7 separate regions of the Homo sapiens genome follow, and regions 2, 3, 4, 5, 6 and 7 are each linked to region 1. The links are contacts of gene promoters, found by promoter capture Hi-C in blood cells and fetal thymus (Javierre and others, 2016). All regions are on one chromosome and are shown on one strand. The core of a region is centred on a gene start or on the middle of the fragment in contact, and the rest is flanking DNA. Distances in the headings are between cores, read along the strand shown. Region 1 holds the start of LINC01548 (long intergenic non-protein coding RNA 1548). Region 2 overlaps PAXBP1 (PAX3 and PAX7 binding protein 1). Region 3 overlaps EPCIP-AS1 (EPCIP antisense RNA 1). Region 4 overlaps EPCIP (exosomal polycystin 1 interacting protein). Region 5 has its middle 4.2 kb from the start of EPCIP. Region 6 has its middle 25 kb from the start of EPCIP. Region 7 has its middle 43 kb from the start of EPCIP.

Region 1 (3,212 bases), core at 237-2,736:
GGCCCTCAGACTACTATCATGAGGCCCAGGCCTTGAGCTGCAGAGCTGGTTAATTAGCGCTGGAGCCCAGGAAGCCCCATCTGTTCCCAGCACTTGTGTTGCTCTGATCTCTCCATTTCCCTGACTCCCAGGCCAGGGAGAGTTCTTGTCCTCCTACCCTGCAATCCCTGGAGATGCGCTCCCCCCAACCGCAGCCCAAAGTGCCTTTTCATGGGGCTGTAAGGCAGCTGTCACGAGGTAAATCCCACTCTTTACCCCGCCAGCAGGACAGGTAGGGACAGGTGGGAGGAATACGGGAGGAAACAGCTCCCACTGGTGACTGCCGGACCCTCTCCTCGCTGGCCGCAGACCCTGGAGCCACTTCCCTACCGTATCCAGAGCAGGCCCAGCCCCCGACAAAGGGACCTTTATATGGTGGTCCTGGAATTTTAGTTGGGTTCCCGTAAATGCAGACCCTGACAAGGTCTTGGGCACAGGAGGTTTATCTGAGGGGACTCCAGGAAGCAGGAGTCAGGGAGAAGGAAGCAGGAAACAGAAGTAGACGTCATTACTGAGATTGCTGCTGGAGGCAACAGGGGTCTTGAAGGTAAGAAACATGTCCTTACGGGAGAAGCTGCCTTGGTGGGTTTGGAAAGTGTGAAGAGTTCGCAGGCGTGCTCATCATCAACTAAGTGGACAGGTGAAAGCTGGAGGGGCTCTGCAGAAGCCCTGAGTTGCACTAAAATCTGTACTAATCCAAATAGTGGGTCTAGATTCCCTCTCCTACTCAAAATGACTTTAACTCCTCCAATTTAGCAAATATTGGTTGAACATCTCCTACTGTATTTAATGGAATGTAAGAGATCATTGACTATAAGGCACGCCATTATTTTAAGAGGCTCTAAGAAAAGAGCTTCCAACTCAGCTATGACACTCTATGAAAAGTAAGACTTTCCTAGGTCAGAAGCACAGAAGTGTAAAAAGAATGTTGGTCTCGGGATGGGTACCATGTGCACTGTAGCTTAATGGGCATAGTGGGGCATTGTGACATAGAAACTGCCCTTGCTCCCAGCAGAGGAGAAAAAGCGTGTAAAGCAATGTCAGTGATAACAAGCAAAAATAGGACAGGGGAGAAAGCCAAGAGTCTTCAGACCACAAGAGAAGGAGAGATTAATTCTGGTAGGGAGGTATCAAGGAGGCCTTCCTGGATGAGGGGGTGGCATCTGAGCTGGGCTCAGGAAAAGGTGGGGCTTGAACTATTGGGGATGAAGGGAAAGGCATTCCCGGCAAGTGGGAACAGCACAGGCAAAGGCTCTGAGAGGTCCTAGAAATAAAGTTATTGCACTTCAAGGGGGTTGTAAGATTTATGGGTGAGGATAAGGAAAAAGTAGAGAATTAGAAAAGCAGTGAACTTACCCCTTTACCCAGAAATCCCCCTCCTAAGTGCATGGCCAAGAGAAATTTGCCCTCAAGTGCACCTTTTCCCTTTAGGAAAATCCACCTGGATGGACAGCAGCAGAGGGAGGAGGAGGCAGGACAGACCAGAAGAGAGACAATGAGGTTCTGAACCTAGATGTTGGCCAAGGGAGCAGAGGAGGGCAGGTGAATGGCGCTATAGGGGATACTGTAGCAGGAGGGTTGACTGGACTCAGCAACTGGGGAGGGAGTAGGCAAAAAGAGAGCCTGGGAACTTAGGACAAGAAGCAGGGTATTTTTTTTTTTTCAAGGGAGAGGTAAGCAACAATGATTTACTTGTTCTTACACATGGAACTCTCCAGGGCACTACACCTGCATTTAAATCACTTGGCTCCTGGCACATGGCTCTCCTCCCATTTCTCTTTCTGTCCACTCCCTCTTCATTTGTCCTCTGCCCTCTTCGTATGACTGTTCCTTGGGGCCCTGTCTCCAGGTCAGGAGGCCCTCGCCCTGCAATCACCCTTCCTGGGAGCCTTCACTTCACCTGTGATCTCAAGACCTCTCCCTACTGCCTGACTCGCGCCGAGCTTATGGAACATCTTCCCTTGAGGGTCGCAGTCCATTCGATGAGGTATTTTCCCCATGAAATCCCTTATCTTTGGGAACCTCTTCTTTTCCTTGTGCGTCCTATGTGGGTGGATGGAGAACCACTCTCCACGTGGTTACTCGGTCCAGAAGGGCGGCTGTCTGTACAAATGCGCCTCTTCCTTTCACTTCCTCTATCCAACCAGCTTCTTCTGCCCACCTCCCTTTCATGCTCCTTTCACGCTCCTTTCACATGCTCTTGGCTCACCGTTTTTTTCTTTAAGTTTTTAGAGACAGGGTCTCGCTCTATCACTCAGGCTAGGGTGTGCTGGCACGACCATGGCTCACTGCAGCCTTGACCTCCTGGGCTCAAGCTATCCTCCTGCCTCAGCCTCCTGAGTAGCTGGGACCACAGGCACGCACCACCATGCCTGGCTAATTTTTTATGTTTTGTAGAGACAGGGGTCTCTTTCTTGCCCAAGCTGGTCTTGAACTCCTGGCCTCAAACAATCCTCCTGCCTTGGCTTCCCAAATTGCTGGGATTGCAGGAGTTTGCCACTGCGCCTGACCTGGCTCGCCTTTTTTGCTCCTGGGCGTTGCTCTGACAACCGCAACAAGCTGTCACCTGACAGCTGTGGCAGTGGGTATCTGCTGTGGCAGGCTTTCTGTCCAAGCCTGCGGGGACTTGCTTAGCTATACTGGCTTGTGTGTAAACTTGGAAGCTCAAGGGAGGTGGCTTTCCTTGGGGGAAAACTTTGACCAATAGGGGCAGGAGCTGATGAGCTCATCTGTCTTCCATCCATGTCTTGGGTGGACAATTCTGAGGCATCTTTCACACGCTTCCTCAGGGGGTCTCCAGGGGATCCAGTCCCAGCAGCCCATGGAGGTAACCAGGCCAATAACACCACACTGGGATGCTTCTTTCTCCTCCCACTATTTTTAAAATTTTTAATTTTTAAAACTTTTTGTTGAGATGCGGTCTCCCTGTGTTGCCCAGGCTGGTCTTGGCCTCCTGGCCTCAGGCGATTCTCCTGCCTTAGCCTCTCAAAGTGCTGGGATTACAGGTGTGAGCCACCACACCAAGCCCACCTCCCTCTTTCACTCCTCCCAGCCCCCATTGCTGTTACTTGGCATCAATTCCTAAACAGCCTGCACATCAGCCCTTGTCACAGGTCCTGCTTCTGTGGGGAGCTCAAGCGCGGACACCCTTGGAACACTCCCCAAGTCTCTTC
Region 2 (3,212 bases), core at 445-2,944, 430 kb after region 1:
ATAAAGTTTCCTGTAGACTCTGGATATTAGACCTTTGTCAGATGGATAGATTGCAAGAATTTTCTCCCATTCTGTAGGTTGTCTGTTCACTCTGATAATAGTTTCTTTTGCTGCGTAGAAGCTCTTTAGTTGAATTAGATACCATTTGTCAATTTTTGCTTTTGTTGCAGTTGCTTTTGGTGTTTTTGTCGTGAAATCTTTGCCCATGCCGATGTCTTGAATGGTATTGCCTAGATTTTCTTCTAGGATTTTTATAGTTTTGGGGTTTACATTTAAGTCTTTAATCCATCTTGACTTAACTTTTGTATATGGTGTAAGGAAGGAGCCCAGTTTCAATTTTCTGTATATGGCTAGCCAATTCTCCCAACACCATTTATTAAACAGGGAATCTTTTCCCCATTGCTTGTTCGTGTCAGGTTTGTCGGAGATCAGATGGTTGTAGGTGTGCGGTCTTATTGCTGAGTTCTCTATTCTGTTCCATTGGTCTATGTGTCTGTTTTTGTATCAGTACCATGCTGTTTTGGTTACTGTGGCCTTATAGTTTGAAGTCTGGTAGCATGATATCTCCAGCCGTCCAGTTTTTAGTTGTTTGCAACCAAAGGTTAAATCCAGTTCTTGTTTCTCTTATCATAGCTGGAAGCAGAAATAGCCACTATTTTAGTATTTGGGTAACCTTTTAAATGTCTTTTAGGCAAAATGTCGTGACTTTGAGAATATGCTGTGGTTTGAATCTTTGCTGTTTTATGGTTGTGAAGAACGAGAGCAAGAAAAAGATGATGTAGATGTTGCCCTACTACCTACCATTGTGGAAAAGGTGATTCTTCCTAAACTAACAGGTAAATCTCCTGTTCTCTGAATTGAGCATTCAGACACACTGGCTTTCTCAAATCTATTTTTATGAGTTTATAATTCAGAGCATGTTTCCTTATAGAAATTACATGAGAAATAATAGTTACCACCTGGCCCAGAGATGGCTAGAGGGCAGAGGGGTTCTTATCCTGGGACTTGAAGACCACTTTAGGGTGGGCCTGTAGTTGAGTGCAGTAATTGCTTCATAGGTGAGGTTTAGAAATTCAAAGACTGACTGAAGCAAAATTATACAGAGTTTGAGGGAGGAGGATATGCATTTATGTGGGGAGCAATTAAAATGCTTTCATAAGTTCCTCAAAAAAGATTAGGAATCATTGATACAGGAATCTATTTTAAATACTAGAAATGTTAGTTTGAAATTCTTGATGCCAAGACAACATTTCTACAGAAATCCTCTTTTTTCCTAATCTTTATTTTCCCTGAGTACCAGAAATAAGAATAATCTATCCTCTCTCCACATCCCTATCCCTCCAAATTCCCACAGTTAATAGGACAAAGAAGACTAAAGCTTATATTGTAGAAAAAGAGGAAAAATAAATTAGGATTGGCATTAATAGAGGTCTGCTTGACAAAAAATTAAAGGTACAATTGGCTTCTGTGTCTCAATCCTCTTTTTTTCTTAATAGTGATAGCTGAAAATATGTGGGACCCTTTTTCTACAACACAGACTTCAAGAATGGTGGGAATTACACTAAAATTAATCAATGGATATCCTTCAGTAGTGAATGCAGAAAATAAAAATACACAGGTAATTTAGTATCTTTTGAAGCCTTTTTTTTTTTTCCTCTTTCTGTTGAATATGAGCAAGCATTGAGAGAATGAGTGGTTATCCTAAACCAATCAGAAATCTGGTTCTCCCACTTGGGCCATCAGGGCCATTAAAGCCTGAAATACACAAAATTTGAGATGTTAGGTTTTTTTTTTCTTTTTTTTATACCTAGTCCCGCAGAGAGATGTTAGTTTTCAGTTTAAAAAAATCAATATGGAAGGAAGATGTCATCATTTTAAATAGCCTTTCATTATGATTTCTCACCACCACACCTCAGTCCCAATCCAACTAATCAAATGTCCTTTTAAAGACTGTATTTTCTGGGGGGAAATGAGAAACCAAAATGTTAACAATTGATAATTTAAGCTTGTCCAACCCGTGGCCCATGGACATGTGGCCCAGGACGGCTTTGAATGCGGCCCAACACAAATTTGTAAACTGTCTTAATACATGAAATTTATGCACAGACCCCGCCCCCCTCCTTTTTTTTTTTCTTTTTTTTTTTTTTTTAGCTCATCAGCTGTCATTAGTGTCATTGTATTTTATGTGTGGCCCAAGACAGTTCTTCCAGTATGGCCCAGGGAAGCCAAAAGATTGGGCACCCAAACCATTTAAACAGCATATAAAACAACTAGATACTGTTTTATAACTAGTTGCCAAACTTAAAGTTAATGCTCTTCAGGGGCCATTCATAGAAGCTGTTTAAATGTAGAGAAGGTGGGTGCTCTTTGTCATTGTTGAATTTTCACTTTGAGAGCTAGATTATGTGTCTGGTCTTAAATCTTTATGTAGACTAAGGAATTGAAAGATTTCTAAAGCTTTATTGCTTGGCAGTTGTTGAGGAATGAACTAATAGATTATTAAGTATTAATTACTTTAGGGTCTTCAATGAGGAAAATTAAAAATTTGAGAAACTAGTTCACTCAGTTCAATATTCAGTTACATGATTTGGAATATGGCTTATTTTTCTTGTCATAGTCCTTATTAAAATGTGTGATCTACTTTTAACTTTTTAGGTATACCTAAAGGCACTTTTATTGAGAATGAGAAGAACTTTAGATGATGATGTATTTATGCCCTTATATCCCAAAAAGTAAGTAACTCTGAAGAACATTAAAGATAATATTCTCCATTGTGTTTCAGAGAAGGCTTATAAAATTCTGAAAAACTAGCTTGAAATACAAACTTCACCCATGTAGTGTATTACAGAGAGACTAGATTAGTGGCGAGATTGTTCCCTTAAGCAGAATAAAACAATACTCTTACGTTCTCCCTGAGTGTCTCAGAATAAATTTCCATTGCCTTTTTAACATACTATCTTCCAGAATGCAATTATTTGAAAAATTAAAAATTTATTTTGTTTACCTGTTTTGTAGAAAAATCTTTTGTCCAGGAATCATATGGCACCTACATATAAAATATCTGATCATGATATGTTTCTCTTTTTTTTACTTAGTGTCTTAGAAAATAAAAATTCTGGGCCTTACTTGTTTTTTCAACGACAGTTTTGGTCTTCAGTTAAGGTACGTGTCCATAGACTATCTAAAAGACTCAGATTTCGTTTGACTTCATA
Region 3 (3,212 bases), core at 339-2,838, 390 kb after region 1:
CCACTGCACTCTAGCCTGGGCAACAGAGCTACACTCTGTTTCAAAAAAAAAAAAAAAAAAAGATTGCAATGGAGCTGAAAAATTCCTATCATCTAGTGACATCATAGCAATCATAATACTGTAGCACAATACATTACTCATGTGTGTGGTGATGCTGGTATTAAGAAACCTCTGTTTCAGTGGTATAAAAGTATAGCACATACAATTACATATACCACATAAAACTCCATAATGATAATAAATGACTATGTTACTGGTTTATGTATTTGCTATACCAGTAGTCCCCAACCTTTTTGACACCAGGGACTGGTTTCATAGAAGACAATTTTTCCATGAACTAGGGGGTGGAGGATGGTTTGAGGATGATTCAAATGCATTACATTTACTGTGTACTTTATTTCTATTACAATTACATTGTAATATATAATGAAATAATTATACAATTCACCATAATGTAGAATCAGTTGGAGCCCTCAGCTTGTTTTCCTGCAACCAGATGGTCCCATCTGGGGGTGATGGGAGACAGTGACAGGTCATCAGGCATTAGATTCTCATAAGGAGTGCACAAGCTAGATCCCTCATGTGCAGAGTTCACAATAGGGTTCGTGTTCCTGTAAGAATCCAATGCTGCTGCAGATCTGACAGGAGACAGAGCTCAGGTGGTAATGCGAGTGATGCAGAGTGGCTGCAAATACAGATGAAGCTTTGTTTGCTCACCCGCCGCTCACCTCCTCTTGTGCAGCTCGGTTCCTAACAGGCCACTGACTGGTACCAGTCTGTGGCCTGGAGGTTGGGGACCCCTGCTTTATCTTATTTCTCGCATATTTAGTGAGGCCTCATCAGTTGTTAAGGCCCAGCTATTTATCTTCCCCCCAAATGTATATATTGAAACACTAATCCCCAGTGTGATAGCAGAGGAGGTAGAGATGCTGGAATGTGACTAGGTCACAAAGGTGGAGCCCTTATGAATGGGATTAGTGCCCTGGTAAGAAGCTGAAGAAACCACAGTTGTCTCCCTTCCACCATGTGAGGACTCAGCTAGAAGGTACCATCTATGAACCAGGAAGCAGACCCTCACCGGAACACAAATCTGCCAGTGCCTTAACCTTGGATTTCCCAGCATCCAGAGCTGTGAGAAATAAATTTGTTGTTTATAAGTCACCCAATTAATGGTATTTTGTTGTAGCAGCCCAAATGGACTAAGACATCAGCTAATGTATATAGAATATTTTTTACATATTTATTGGCTTTGTGGCTTCTAACATTTTAAAAATAAACTTAAAAAAAGAGAGAGAACAATGTCTACCTTTGGCCACTTGCCTCCTGCAGGGGTGGGAGGTGGTTGGGGACGCCTATACTATACTTTTTACTGTTATTTTAGAGCGCACTCTTTTTACTTACAAAAAAAAAAGTTAAGTATATAAGAGCCTCAGGCAGGTCCTTCAGGAGGTATTCCAGAAAAAGATATTGTTTTTATAGGACATGATAGCTCCATGTTTGTTATTTTTCCTGAAGACCTTCCAGTGGGACAAGATGTGGAAGTGGAAGACAGTGACACTGATAATCCTGACCTTGCGTAGGCCTAGGCTGATGTGTGTGTTTGTGTCTTAGCTTTAAAGTTTAAAAAGTAAAACAAAATAATTAAAATGGTAAAAATAGAAGATATTTTTGTGCAGCTGTAAATGTGTATTTTTTTAAGCAAAGTGTTATGCCGGGCACGATGGCTCACGCCTGTAATCCCAATACTTTGGGAGGCTGAGGCAGGTGGACGACCTGAGGTCGGGAGTTTGCGACTGCCTTGACCAACATGGAGAAACCTTGTCTTTACTAAAAATACAAAATTAGTTGGGCGTGGTGGTGCATGCCTGTAATCCCGGCTACTCAGGAGGCTGAGGCAGGAGAACTTCTTGAACCCTGGATGCAGAGGTTGCGGTGAGCTGAGGTTGCACTACTGCACTCCAGCCTGGGCAACAAGAGCAAAACTCTGTCTCAAAAAAAAAAAAAAAAAAGTCAAGAAGTTTTAAAAAATGTCTGGGCACGTTGGCTCATGCCTGCAATCCCAGAACTTTGGGAGGCCGAGGTGGGCAGATTACTTGAGGTCAGGAGTTCAAGACCAGCCTGGCCAACACAGGAGCTTGTGGGGTGTGCGGATCATCTCTACTAAAAATACAAACATTAACTGGGCATGGTGGTGCACGCTTATAATCCCAGCTACTTGGGAAGCTGAGGTGGGAGGATTGCTTGAACCTGGGAGGCAGAGGTTGCAGTGAGCTGAGATCACGCCACTGCACTCCAGCCTGGGGATAGAGTGAGACTCTGTCTCATTGCTTGAACCTGGGAGGTGGAGGTTGCAGTGAGCTGAGATCGCGCCACTGCACTCCAGACTGGGTGACAGAGTGAGACTCCATCTCAAAAAACAAAAACAAAACAAAACAATAACAACAAAAAAGTTTTAAAAAATAAGAAAGCTTATAAAGTAAAAAAGTTATAGTAAGCTATTTATTATTGAAGAAAGAAATATGTTTAAACATTTAGTGTAGCCTAAGTGTACAGTTGTTTATAAAATCTACAGCAGTGTACAGTAATAACCTAGGCCTTCATATTCACTTACCACTCACTCACTGACTCACCCAGAGCAACCTCCAGTCCTGTAAGCTCCATTCCTGGTAAGTGTCCTATACAGGTGCACCATTTTTAAAGCTTTTATGCTGTATTTTTACTGTATCTTTTCTATGTTTAGATACAGATACCATTGTGTTACAAGTGCTACAGTATTCAGTACAGTAACATGCCGTATAGGTTTGTAGCCTAGAAGCAATAAGCTATGCCATACAGCCTAGGTATGTAGTAGGCTACACCACTAGGTTTGTGTAAGTATGTGATGAAATTGCCTAATGGCATATTTCTCAGAATGTATCCCCGTCAAGTGACAAGTGATTGTATTGTGGCTTACTTTAAAATGAGAGGTACTCTTCCCTCTATCCATATCCAATCACCACTTTTACACTGGGAGAAATTTTTGAAATTTCAGGCCACCATAATAACATATTTGGCTTCTGGACCTTGTCTTTGCTACCTCTACCCTAATTATTTTACTGCAAATCTTTCTCTTGGCTCAGGTGTCTGGAGGCTGATCAGGCACAATTTGAATCTTCTATGATTAGAAAAGGGAGTTCAATTTCACTAGTGAAACACTGTTGGAATCAGAACTT
Region 4 (3,212 bases), core at 517-3,016, 370 kb after region 1:
ACAGTTCTGCCATCTTCTAGGGCCGTCGGTTCCTTCGTGGAATCTTCCACCATATTCCATTGGCCAGAACTCAATCACATGGTACCACTTCACTACCAGAAGCTCAGAAATGAAGTCCAACAGTGTGCTAAAGAAGGAGAGGAGAACATGGCATTCACAGGGACTAGAAGTCTCTGATATACCTAGGTTGTAAGACGCAATAAGTAGCTTGATGCAACCATGACAAATACTCAGGGGATGTCTACACATCCAAATTTTTCAGTCAAGATGCTAAAAACTGTGCATGTTTTTTTTTTTTTTGGTTTTTTTTTTGTTTTTTTGAGACAGAGTCTCACTCTGGAGTGCAATGGCGCGATCTCAGCTCACTGCAACCTCTGCCTCCTGGGTTCAAGCGATTCTCCTGCCTCAGCCTCCTGAGTAGCTGGGATTACAGGCACATGCCACCATGGCCAGCTAATTTTTGTATTTTTAGTAGAGACAGGGTTTCACCGCATTGGTCAGGCTGGTCTCGAACTCCTGACCTCGTGATCTACCTGCCTTGGCCTCCCAGAGTGCTGGGATTACAGGCGTGAGCCACCACACCCGGCCTATGTGCTTACTTATTAAATATTTGAGCCTTTGTGCATGATTATTAAATATTTGAGCCTTTAAATCACTGGACATGTTTAAAAACCAGAGCTACTATTCAGAATCAGTTTGAGTATTATTTTTGTATTGCAGCTGAAGAAATCTCAAGAACAATACTAGCAACTAGCTGCATAAAGACAGAGGGTTCTAAATTGAGGAGATACAGACATCAGTTACTTCAAAACAAATTCCACACAGATTCCTTCTCAATCTAGGATTACACCCAACATTTAGATAATGTTTATACTTGGCTTCAAAAGGAATGTTTCAAACTTGACTAGTTCTGTTTATAAGAAGATATTACTAGTAAGGAGATATTGTGTCAGTGGGAGGACAGCATTTGGAGCATTTGCCCAAAACAGATTTGAAATGTCATAAATAATGATGTTCTGAGCTCTATAGTCCTAACACAAAAGACAAATAACTAATTGTGGAAAAATCAAGTGACATTCTCCAAATCCTTATAGCAATTAAAAATCAAAAGCAATTTAAAAACGTAATTTGGAAGTGAGCTTAATTTGAAATCAAAAGTGGTTTTTATTTTATTATTTGAGATAGAGTCTCACTCACTCTGTCACCCAGGCTGGAGTGCAGTGGTGCGATCTCGGCTCACGGCAACCTCTGCCTCCCGGGTTCAAGGAATTCTCGTGCCTCAGCCTCCTGAGTAGCTGGCATTATAGGTGTGCACCACCACACCTGGCTAATTTTTGTATTTTTAGTAGAGACAGGGTTTCCCCATGTTGGCCAGGCCGGTCTTGAACTCCTGACCTCAAATGATCTGCCCCCCTCAGCCTACCAAACTGCTGGGATTACAGGTGTGAACCACCATGCCTGGCTGTGATTTTTATTTTTAAAGTGGAAATGCAATTAGGGGAAAGACTCAAGAGAAGAAAATTGTGAAAGGCTCAAGAGTCAGAAGCTGAGAAGATGCCCTGGCAAGAAGCAGTCTCAAGTATAGATCTGAGTTATGGCTCTGGGGTTAAAGCCAGAAGAAAGCTAGGGCCCGGGCACCCCAAGGAACACACTGTGAAGCCAGGACTTGGAGAGGTAAGCAGGGCTATTGCTCACAAATGCAGTACCCAAAGTGTGTCCCTGCAAAAATCCTTGAAGATTCTTGGGTGGTAAAATCGAGGGGCCCTCCAGTAAAGGAGCCAATTTGAAAATCTGAATATATCCCACAAAGTCAGACATATATCTGCACTCTTAGAGGGCATTTTATCAAAGTGGTGCTTTAGTGTTTGCTGAGACTGAGAGGAGTAGAGTTGCAATGCTCACCCATGCTCATCCCATGGGTCTTGTGGGCACCCACCTTTCTGACTGCCTACCTGGCCCTTTTCTGATAGCGCCTCCTGATTTCCCTTTGCAGAACCATCCTTCTACCCTCTCAGTCCACTCTTTGCAGTGGGGCTGATCCCATTCATTGGCTCCCAAGCTGAGTGTACGACTCAGGAGTCCAATGTATTTTTGCCTCCTAATATTTATTTATTTACTTATTTGGTTATTTATTTCATTATTATTATTATTTTATTTTTTGGTTGCAAAGTCTCACTCTGTCACTCAGGCTGGAGTGCAGTGGCACAATTTCAGCTCACTGAAACCTCTGCCTCCCAGGTTCAAGTGATTCTCCTGCCTCAGCCTCCCTGTAGCTGGGATTAAAGGCACATGCCACCCTGCCTGGCTAATTTTTGTATTTTTGGTAGAGACAGGGTTTCGCCTTGTTGGCCAGAATGATCTCGAACTCCTGAGCTGAAGCGATCTGCCTGTCTTGGTCTTCCAAATGCTGGGATTACAGGCCTGAGCCATTGTGCCCAGCCATATTTATTTATTCATTAGAGATGGGGTCTCGTTCTGTCATCTAGGCTGGAGTGCAGTGATACAATCATAGCTCACTGCAGCCTCAAATGGCCTAAGAGTTCAAAGCCCAGTGAAATCACAGCTCACGAGGGGTACTTGAGAGAAACTAGGGGAGGAAGTTTTAAGACACAGTCTCCAGCAGAATAGGCTGTCATGAACCCGTGGAGTAAGAATTGGGGTTAGGTCATGAGGAGAACAGGTGCCTTTGCATATCATCCCTCCCTCTGTCAGTCACCCTAGGCAAGAAGCCATCCAGAGAGACTCCGAGGCCAGGGACTGAGTGTGCTCACACACCTTGCCCTGAACCTGCACTTGTGTCCCTATTTCTGCCTGTGCAGCCATAGCAGATACCACAACAGGGTGGCTTAAACAACACCGAATTCTCAGACTCAAGTGATCCTTCTGCTTCAGCCTCCCGAGTAGCTGGGACTATAGGTGCACACCATCATGTCCAACTAATTTATTTTATTTGTAGAGATTATGTCTCACAATGTTGGCTGGGCTGGTCTTGAACTCCTGGCTTCCCACAATCCTCCTACCTCAGCCTCCCAAAGTGCTGGGGTTACAGGTATGAGCCACCACACCCAGCAGCCTGGTGCTATTTAAAGAGAGGTTTATTTATTTATTTATTTTTTCTTGAGAGGTTGCTCAGCTGATAGAAAGTAAACCTGGATCTACTAGTGACCATCTTGTCCCCAGAAGGAGTGATCTTATCTGGGAACAAAGCCCAC
Region 5 (3,212 bases), core at 327-2,826, 350 kb after region 1:
AATTTATTTTAGAATCTGGAAAGAAGAAAGAATGTGGCTTAGCCTGATTTTCCCAGAGAGTAGAACATCAGAAAAGCATATATATACATATATGCAAGCACTGTATTGGGAACTGCTATCCCTAGAAGCAAGAGTGAGGGAGAGGGAAGCGGTGAGGGGCAGCGCAAGGTAAGTTACTGCTTGATTCTGTGAACCACCTGAGAAGCCACAAGGCACGCATCTCAGGACTGTCTGCCTGGATTGAGAAAGGAGGAATCCCCCATTGGTCAAAGGATCACTCCATGGAGGCATTAAGTCCCCGGAACTTCAGGTTGCATTCATGAGACTACTAAGGAGTGTTTGCAGTGTCTGTCCCAGGCTGCAGAGATGACAGAGAAGGCTTCGGATGGGAGGTGAGAGGTGCTTGCAAGTTAGTTCTACATGCAGCTGGTCAGGCTCATGGCAGAACTGTCACTACAGTGGCGGCTGGAATCAAAGACAGGTGTGGCTGAAAGGAGCTGAGGCAGTGCTTACGAGGTGTCTGATCCAAGATGTTCATGTTCTAAGGAGTATATAGGTGTGAGCAGGATGGTAAGAAAGCCCTGGTACGATTCCTGGCTCCTCTCAGATGCAAGGCCTTCTCACGAGGCCAGGGATGCTGTGACAGCAGTGAGTATCTGACACAAGTGGAGAAGAGTTATTGCAGCCACTGGGCCAGAACCGCTGGAAGACTTCCGGGATCACATCAGGGGTTCTCAGGAAACCAAGCATTAGGAATTCTTAGTTCTCTGCATTTTCTCCATGAGTGCCTGTACCCTAAAGTGGATGCTGAGGAAGCAGACCATGAGAGGACCCAGAGTGGACTTTGCAGAGGGCAAAGGTCATAGGTAGGGGTCACCTCGGTAGGGGTCAGGGCAGTGTGGATGCAGCAGGGCAGGGAGCTGAGGGTGGATGGAAGAGGTAAAGCCAGAGGCGCTGATATCTAGAGACACTGTGAGGATGGAGCAGGGAGAAGGAACACACATAGAGCCCTGCACAAGCTCTGGGGCCCAGCAAGGCCATGAGGTGAGGACATGAGTGCTGACGGCCTGCAGTGAGCTGAGAATACAGATGTTAAAGTTGCCAAAGAAGGAAGGGGAAGGGAAGTTGGGAAGGAAAGAGAGACCCTGAGATGACTCCTGCCCCAGATGGAAGAAACACTTATAGAAGACACTGGTAGTGATTTGGAGGCAGTTAAGTAGGGGGTGGTAGAGAATCCAGATGAGAATCCATGAAGAGAGGGTGTCAGAAACAGTGGAATTTGAGGCCTTGTGGTAAAAGATTTTTTTTTTCTTTTTCAGAGACAGGGTCGTGCTCTGTTGCCCAGGCTGGAGTGCAATGGCGCGATCTTGGCTCACTGCAGCCTCAAACTCCTGGGCTCAAGAGATCCTCCCACCTCAGCCTCCTGAGTAGCTGGGACTATAGGTGGGCACCTCTACACCTGGCTAATTTTTTATTTTTTGCAGAAACAGGGTCTCACTATGTTGCTCAGGCTCGTCTCAAACTCCTATCTTCAAGTGCTCCTCCCATCTCAGCCTCCCAAAGTGCTGGGATTACAGATGTGAGCTACCATGCCAGGCCCAAGGTAAAAGATTTTAAGGAACACGTTAGTGAACAATCAAGCAAGATTTGCTTCACTGCAGACTTACACCAGACATTATTTCCAGAAGATCAGTTGTAGAGGGGGGTGTGGATTTTCACTTTTGCTTAATACATTGGATATTATCTGAATGTGCTATCAGAAAAACTGCATTGCTTTTATGATAAAAAATAAAACGGAGAAAGAAAACAAAATTGGTCAAGGACAAAGCTAGAATTCCATCTCATTGTGAACAAACACTTGTCCACCACCCGTTGGCTCCACAGCTGAACAAAACAGGCAGTCTGAGGTGTGGTTTTATTAACCTTCCCAATACTCATTGCTGCTAAATCAACTTAAACTATGTGACCGGTTAACACAAAGAGCCAGTGGAAGTAAATGCTTTAAAAAGACAGGGAGATATAAAACCTGGGGTAAATGTTTAACATGCCATACACAGGGCCCCAGCCACATTCCATCAGCAGCTGCATGTTTGGCCTTCAAGTTTCCAGGGAAGTACCTGGCTCTTCACACTCTTTGCCTTCAGCCAGGAACCCCACTAAGCAAGAGGTCCTGGAAGGCATCCGAGTCATAAATAGAGAAAGTCACAAAGAGTAATCAATATAGTAGCTACCATTACTGGCTGCCTTATTTGTGCTCAGTTTACACTAAATACCTTATGCTGTTTATCTTAGTCATTAAAATAAAGAAGTAGAAGAGACAGTACCAGCAAACTTCCACTTACCTTGTATAGTAGGCCATTCTCGCCTTGCTATAAAGAAATACCTGAGACCGGGTAATTTATAAAGAAAAGAGGTTTAATTGTCTCATGGTTGTGTGGGCTGTACAGGAAGCATAGCAGCATCTGCTTGGCTTCTGAAGAGGCCTCAGGAAACTTACAATCGTGGAGAAGGTGAATGGGGAGCAGGTGTGTCCCATGGGGAAAGCAGGAGTAGGTGTGGGGAAGTGCCACACACTTTTAAACAACCAGATCTCATGAGAACTCACTATCGTGAGGACAGCATCAAGCATTCATGAGAAATCCACCCTCATGATCCAATCATCTCCCACCAGGCCCCACCTCCAACATTGGGGATTACAATTCCACATGATATTTGGGCGGGGACATATATCCAAACTCTGTCACCTTGTATTGGACAGAATTAAGGCACTAGTATATAATTCAGGGTTCTTGGTTACAGGCAACAGAGTCTACTCTAGCTGGTTTAAACCAGGAATTTCTTCAGATATACAGATACTGCCTTGAGTCATTGGAAGGACTGAAGAAATGGATTCTAGACTGAACTCTGAAAGTCACCATAGAATTGAACCATCATGGGGAGCTACTACCTCATCCACAACCAGGAAGTTGCTGAATTAAGAGGCCACATTCTCCAACAGGAAGTTAGTGCCACAGTCCTCAGCTCTTGAGCCATGCCATATTGGCCACAACCAGTCAACAACTCAGTCAGAAGGCCACCCCCACAACAGACCATGCCATATCTGCTGAGACCCTGGCCAGCAAGAGATTCCCAGTACTCTCCTCTCTCTTCTCACTTAATTCATTCCCAAAGTCTCAGGATCCTCTCTCCACGTGACTTCATTCTGAATCAAG
Region 6 (3,212 bases), core at 358-2,857, 330 kb after region 1:
ACTGCAGAGGCAGAAGAAGGAGTGAATGAAGAGGTGGAGAGGCCACATGGCTGCAGCTCTGTTCGCTAACTTGATGTTTGAATTCTTTTGCAGGATTATGTCCAATCTCGGGTATTCAGAGGTATATCAGGGAAGCTGATGGAATAAACCAAATGTGGAAGAATCCTGGAGTTATGGTGAACAACCATCCTAGTTTTCTCTGACTCTCCCAGTTTTAGTACTGAAAGTCCCTGTTCAGGGAAACCCCTGAGTCTGAGGCAAATCAAGACAGTTGGCCACCCTGCATAGAGTCATAGAAGTGCATGGTTAAAAGAGACCCTGGAGCCTCATACAACTCCCTCATTTTTGGCCCAGAGAGGTCAAAGAGGCAGCACAGCAAAGAACTCAATGTCTTCTTAATAAATGATGAATAAATCTATTGTCTCGTCATGTGAGTAAAATCACCAGAGATTATTAAATGTAAACATGGTACGAGACAAGGACTGGCACCAGAGTGAGGTGATGTGGGATCTAATCCTGGCTCTGCCACTAAATGGGGACCTTGGGTAGGGGAGCTCTGACCTGCCAGGTACTATACACCGATTATTTCATTAATCTGAATTATACTCCTTTAAAGCAGGATTAATATGCCTGTTTAACAGATGGAAGAATGGGCTCAGAGAAATCAAGTAACTAGCCCAATATCATAGTAAGAGCTAAGATTCGAAGGTCAGTTACTCTGACACCAAAGCATATGTTGTTGCCAAAATAGCCCCTACACTGGTACAAAGCTGATGGCAAATCAGCTGCTTGTTGCTCCCATGAAGGACTCATCAGATGGGAACGGCAATTGGAAGAGATAATTTTTTTTCCATTTCTGCAATGCAATTAAGGATATAATAAAATCATCACAGAATGCCCAAATGATTGATAATTGAGAGACTAGTACCAAGTCTACTTCCAAGAAAGATTTAGATTAGCTAGTGCATGTATTTAACCTGAGCTCTCTTTTCTGTTTTTTAATAACAAACTCAGCATCTGATTGATTTTAAGCTTAAGTTCACCAGTTTCTCATATCCACCAAATCAGAAGATAAACTGTATGAGGATAAGAATTTTGTTCACTGCCATAACCCCGGGGCACTTATGCTTGCCATGTAGTAGGTTTGCAATCCATATCTGTTGGATGTAAGAATGAATGAACAAATGAAACAAATTCAAAATTCAACATAGGAATGTTAAGTAATCTTATTATGTATATATACATGTGATAATTTATTTAAAAGTTGATTGAGCACTCAATACAGGAGGTAGAAATAAGGGAAGTAAAGATTTATCTGCCATGCAAATATTAACCAAAAAATTATTGGATGGATAAACTATAAGGATCAAATTGATCTATATATTTTTAATTTTTATAGATTAGAGCTTTTTTAGACTAAAGGGGGTTAGTAGAAGGTTCCTGTGATGAAATAAAGAATCCTTTTAGCAAAATAATAATGATCATAAACTCATTTTTCTAAAACAGTTGAGGATTTGCTTCCAGTGAAGGACTCTTTTACGGTAACTTGAGTCTCACTTTCCTTTGTTTATGTGGTGACATACATGTAGGAAGCAAAAAGCTGAATGCTTTTCTCTTTTGTTTTTTTTTGAGACAGGGTCTCACTCTGTCACCCAGGCTGGAATGCAGTGGCACAATCATGGCTCACTGCAGCCTTGACCTGCCAGGGCTCAGGTTATCCTCCCATCTCAGCCCCCCAGGTAGCTGGGACTACAGGTGCGCCACCACACCTGGCTGATTTTCATATTTTTTCATAGAGGTGGGATTTTGCCATGTTGCCCAGGCTGGTCTTGAACTCAGCATATGTTATAAACATAATTTCTCTGATAGTAAGGATGATATATGTGGGCATTCAGTACTAGGGGTTTGGGGTTTATGGGTGAATGAAGTTTTATATCACTTACCATGCTCTATGCTCCTTAAACTAGCTAGTGCTTGAAAATGGTATTACCATACATATCTTCAAATATGTATATTTGACAGTGGAGAATAAAAAAGAATAAATCACATAGCTTTAAAAATGATGTCAAATACAGCTTCAGCCTTTAAAACACATTTTAGAGGAAAAAAATTAACTATTATATAGAGTTAATCAAAATAAAACAACTTCTTAGGTTTGATAGCAGATCAAAAGTAAGCTTAAAAGTAATATACAGTGTTTAACATTTATGTGTAAGTTTAGTGGTCTGAGAAATAACTTTCCAATTGTACGGCCACTCTGTATTAGACATGATATTAAGGTAATGATGGAATATGTTCTTTCTTTATGGATACAAGGGATCTATTACCATAAAGAATGAATTAAATCTGTTACTATATCAAGAAAAACAGTGCATAAAATACTAATGCTACAAGAAAATGTGTCTCAGCCGGGTTAACAGATGGGTGAAGTGTGAAGGCAGATAAACTCTGCTTCTTTTGGCTTAGTCTTTATATCTCCCTACAACTATAACTAATCCTCTTTATTTGAACAATTTCAAAGACTCTAATTTTACACACATGGCATGCATACAAGAGACACACTTTTAGTTCCTGCCAGCAGGTAATTAGAAGCAACAAAAAGGTATGTCTTGATGAAGAATTGCCTCACTGCCCAAGCCACCACTTCAGCTGATCCAACAGAAATTCATCCTGTTACAGACCACTGCTCAGAGGCAGAGAAGGTCTGGTTTGCAGAGGAAAAAAAAATCATCCAGCCAATCAGACTTGAAATTGATCAATTCATCCCATTATATTTATGTACAGAAAAAGCCTATTAATTTTTGTATAACTAACTTTATAACCAGGTACTTAGTCATATTATTTCTAACAGCTTTTCAATTGATTTATATGGATTTTAGAGATATATAATGATGTAATCTGCAAATAATTTTCCCCATATTTACAGCTTTTTTTCCTCTTATCTAATTGCACTGGCCAGTACTCCTAGAACAGTATTAAAAAAATAGTTTCCATGGTGACCAATATTGTCTTTAATAACGGAAAAAATGGTTTTAGCATTTTGCCATTTAGCATCATGATGGTTTTTCAACTAATACGTGCATATGTGTTTACATGTTAATTTATTGTGTCCAGAATCTATTCCTAATTGAAACTTTTAAAATGAAGAAATGATTGTCAAATTTTGACAAAAAAAGCTCTTTGGGTCACAAAACTATAATTATGGGTTTTTT
Region 7 (3,212 bases), core at 200-2,699, 310 kb after region 1:
ACCTGGAGCTGCCCGCCCCACTGTGGGTTTCTGCACAGAGGTTTCTGGCCAGAAAAGCGGCACCTCAATGATCCCATAACATTTTCTCTGAGCTACCTTTAAAGATTTTAGATTTTGTAAAAAGTGCCTACCACCTCTGAAAATGCCTTGTACACTCATGATTAAATCAACCTTAGTTGAGGTTTGTTGGTTTCACCTGTGAGGTTAATTTTGGTAAAGTTCAAAAGTCAGAAATATCAGCTGCTTGGCATGGCTAAAGTTGGGTAATAAGGGAATTAAAAGAATTTTTTAAAGAGTGCTACAGCTAAAAGTCACCTTAATTAAAAGTGGATATCCAAGCTATATGTACATTTGAAAGGCCTTTATGCTTTTTTTTTTTCTCTTCTTGGATCTTGTTTTGCTGGAAAAAGTTTTCTTTCTTCTCAGTCACCTGAATTATTTTTCTCCATTTTGTCTTGCCACTCTTTTGTTGTTGTTGTTGTTTGTTTTTTTCTTGAGACACAGTCTTGCTCTGTTGCCCAGGCTGGAGTGCAGTGGCGCAATCTTGGCTCACTGCAAGCTCTGCCTTCTGGATTCACGCCATTCTACTGCCTCAGCCTCCCGAGTAGCTGGGACTACAGGCGCCCATCACCATGCCTGACTAATTTTTTGTATTTTTAGTAGAGATGGGGTTTCACCGTGTTAGCCAGGATGGTCTCGATCTCCTGACCTTGTGATCTGCCCACCTCAGCCTCCAAAAGTGCTGGGATTACAGGCGTGAGCCACCGAGCCTGTCTTGCCACCCTTAATGCACACATGAGAGGCCCTAAGACAACTTCTGATAGCCTGGGATGGCTTGGGAAAAACAGAAAAGGTGCCATGGACCCCATTTTGGGCAAAAACCTGTGTTTTCCTCATGGAACACCAGGAATTAAAAGTGGATAGAACCCTCTCAAAATCTGTATTTGTCTTCCTGCTATGCCTGTTTATTAGCCCTAGAAACTGCATGCTTTCCTAGCCCTGCTCTTGAAGGGCTCCACCCTGAGGCCAGTAATCAAATTAAGAAACTGGCAGATGAAAAATCTTACAACTACTGGATCTTCTTCTGTCTGTCTGTATAAAAAGGAGCTCTAATTAATTGGCTTAAAGAAAATAAAGGCTTAGATCAAAAATTTTAAAGGAAAAATAAAAGCTGTAATGCCATTTAGTTCACATGACTTTAATCTTTGAGAAATAAAAACAGTTTTAAAGATTATTGGTAAAATACAAATGTCTTCAAAATGTAAACATGTGGTCTAAATTATGTTCAGATATTAGGTTTGCTAAATGCTCTAAGGTCATAAACTGCTTCTTTGGATTTTGAAAACTGTTCGGCTTGTCTGCTTTACAGTTTGGTAAGGCCTTGGGACATGTGGAGTTAACTATACCTCTTACTATACTGGAAAGTGTCAGATCTTAGCTGCACCTAGTACATAATTAAAACAGCTTACCAGGTTTTACACTAAAATTAAAAATTGCTAAGAGTTACCATTATAACACATAATTGGGACTACTAAAAATAGATTTACATGCAAGGTGTGTAAAGAAAGTAAAATATATTTTTGGTAAAATATTATAAGAAGGCATGGGAATATAAATTTTTGCCTAGTTTAGAGGGTTAAAGAATTGTTTTAAATCAGATAAGATAAAGCTAAAGGTTTAAAGAAGTTGTGAAAGGTTGGTAAAAATTAATCTTGTAAAAGAAACTTCATTTGAGATCAACTAAATTCAAAAGGGTATGATTTGGTTTTTCCGTAAATCAAGCATTGGAATTAAAGCATAACAGGGTTTTCTTAATGTATTGATCTGCTCTTTAACAAAAATTTGTAAAGGGTTATAAAAGGTTTATAGGAACCTCACCTCATGGTCAAACTGGTTAAGATTGGATAGAATTATCTATAAGGTTTCAAATAAAGGAGGGAGGAAGACAAGACAGATTGTTTGGAAAGCTAAGTCTTCCCTCTTAGTATGTAAAGGTTTTTGCCTTTTTAAAAATGTTTTAAATCATTATTTTGGCTAAATAAATGACTTGTGGTAACCTGGAATTCTATTGCATAATATCAAATGTTTTAAACCTTTAACATGTTTGTAGGCTTCCCCAAAAATCAAACTTTAGCTTCAAGGTTGTCTTTTCTAGCCCCTAACTTTTGGATGCTACAGAGGGCCCCTGGAACATCCAAAAGAGAGGTAAACAGGATTATTTGACATGTTTAGTTACATGGGATTGCCAAAATAAAAATAACATTTAATTTTCAGGTTCTATTTTGGTGAATAATATTAATGTATGTTCCAAAATTGCATAGGATTTCTAAAATTCTAATGTCTGAGTATATGTTATCAATCATAATTAAGGTTATTATGTTAAGTTATTGTAAACCATACAAGTAGCCAAATTTCTCTGTCAATCAAGTTTTTAACTGTAACTAGCCTGAACATTTTGTCATTCACAGATAATTGTTGTCTTGTATTGTTCCTTTTCAAAAGATGGTTGATAATCAGCTATAGAACTTTGACAGGTGCTCTTAAATGCAGGTTCCTGATATCTTTGGAGATTGTGACATTGGAATAAAGGAAAAACATTCAGGACTCATGAAGAGCTGAAATGTTCATGAATATCAAGCAGATATTGGACTGAATCAATAGAAAACTGAAGTAATGTTTTCAAAATTTTGCTTAAAACATTGCTGATCCTTGTTTTGTTTTTCAGAGTCAAGGAATCTTTTGAGCTATCTACAACTTTTAACAATTGAGTAAGGTATACTACTGTGAACAAAATTTGGAGCATATTTGTTTCTCTCTGCCTGGTTTCTCTAGAATTTGGAAACTATTTGCGAGTATCCTTAACTTACGGCAATATAGTTATTTGCACCAGTGCAATAAGAATCCATTTTCTTTTGCAACAATATTCAATTGGAGAAACTGGTTGTTCTGCCAAGGCTTTGACTGGAATGATGTACTTTCCTTTAGGGAATCAAGCTTGACTTGCAGAACCAATAAAAGCCCCTTGGGAAACCTGGCCTCACACCTTGTCTACACAGTTCCTTTACAGGGTTCGTAACCTGTGGTGAGTAAAGAATGTCACTTTCTAACAGGCCCAGCAGCCCCAAGCTTTCTTAGAACCTCAGGAAGAGAGGAATTTACCCAAATCATAGGTATTTGAGGGTATAAACCCATGGCTGAGCTCAGCTTTGAAA

What was found. The method cuts DNA at HindIII sites, captures the fragments that hold promoters and counts their contacts. A CHiCAGO score of 5 or more calls a contact.
Region 2: a contact is called between a fragment that was not itself captured here and the fragment with the promoter of LINC01548 in region 1, in 1 of 17 cell types (M1 macrophages). The highest score is 5.5, in M1 macrophages.
Region 3: a fragment that was not itself captured here is called in contact with the fragment with the promoter of LINC01548 in region 1 in 3 of 17 cell types (M1 macrophages, M2 macrophages and M0 macrophages); the score reaches 7.8 in M1 macrophages.
Region 4: a contact is called between a fragment that was not itself captured here and the fragment with the promoter of LINC01548 in region 1, in 9 of 17 cell types (M1 macrophages, M0 macrophages, M2 macrophages and 6 more). The highest score is 10.9, in M1 macrophages.
Region 5: a contact is called between a fragment that was not itself captured here and the fragment with the promoter of LINC01548 in region 1, in 9 of 17 cell types (M2 macrophages, M0 macrophages, M1 macrophages and 6 more). The highest score is 10.4, in M2 macrophages.
Region 6: a fragment that was not itself captured here is called in contact with the fragment with the promoter of LINC01548 in region 1 in 17 of 17 cell types (M2 macrophages, M0 macrophages, M1 macrophages and 14 more); the score reaches 32.8 in M2 macrophages.
Region 7: a fragment that was not itself captured here is called in contact with the fragment with the promoter of LINC01548 in region 1 in 12 of 17 cell types (M1 macrophages, M2 macrophages, M0 macrophages and 9 more); the score reaches 12.0 in M1 macrophages.

What each region holds. Positions count from the first base shown.
Region 1 is chr21:33,168,510-33,171,721 of GRCh38, reverse strand. LINC01548 (long intergenic non-protein coding RNA 1548) reads left to right here and starts at 1,486. Exons shown (of 4, transcript NR_024102.1): 1 at 1,486-1,581; 2 at 1,889-2,026; 3 at 3,141-3,212. RefSeq lists an enhancer at 2,205-2,274. The HindIII fragment of the contact is 7,514 bases long and covers 1-3,212 here.
Region 2 is chr21:32,743,198-32,746,409 of GRCh38, reverse strand. It overlaps PAXBP1 (PAX3 and PAX7 binding protein 1), which reads left to right. Exons shown (of 18, transcript NM_016631.4): 12 at 692-836; 13 at 1,497-1,618; 14 at 2,656-2,732; 15 at 3,096-3,162. Among named protein-coding and RNA genes, the nearest start is that of PAXBP1-AS1, 17 kb to the right of the region's middle. The HindIII fragment of the contact is 627 bases long and covers 1,381-2,007 here.
Region 3 is chr21:32,774,412-32,777,623 of GRCh38, reverse strand. The region is part of intron 1 of EPCIP-AS1 (EPCIP antisense RNA 1); the gene reads right to left. Among named protein-coding and RNA genes, the nearest start is that of EPCIP-AS1, 3.9 kb to the right of the region's middle. The HindIII fragment of the contact is 1,765 bases long and covers 706-2,470 here.
Region 4 is chr21:32,797,912-32,801,123 of GRCh38, reverse strand. The region is part of intron 3 of EPCIP (exosomal polycystin 1 interacting protein); the gene reads left to right. Among named protein-coding and RNA genes, the nearest start is that of EPCIP, 14 kb to the left of the region's middle. The HindIII fragment of the contact is 8,647 bases long and covers 1-3,212 here.
Region 5 is chr21:32,816,249-32,819,460 of GRCh38, reverse strand. No RefSeq gene overlaps it. Among named protein-coding and RNA genes, the nearest start is that of EPCIP, 4.2 kb to the right of the region's middle. The HindIII fragment of the contact is 6,390 bases long and covers 1-3,212 here.
Region 6 is chr21:32,836,718-32,839,929 of GRCh38, reverse strand. No RefSeq gene overlaps it. Among named protein-coding and RNA genes, the nearest start is that of EPCIP, 25 kb to the right of the region's middle. The HindIII fragment of the contact is 1,145 bases long and covers 1,035-2,179 here.
Region 7 is chr21:32,854,891-32,858,102 of GRCh38, reverse strand. No RefSeq gene overlaps it. Among named protein-coding and RNA genes, the nearest start is that of EPCIP, 43 kb to the right of the region's middle. The HindIII fragment of the contact is 3,094 bases long and covers 1-2,996 here.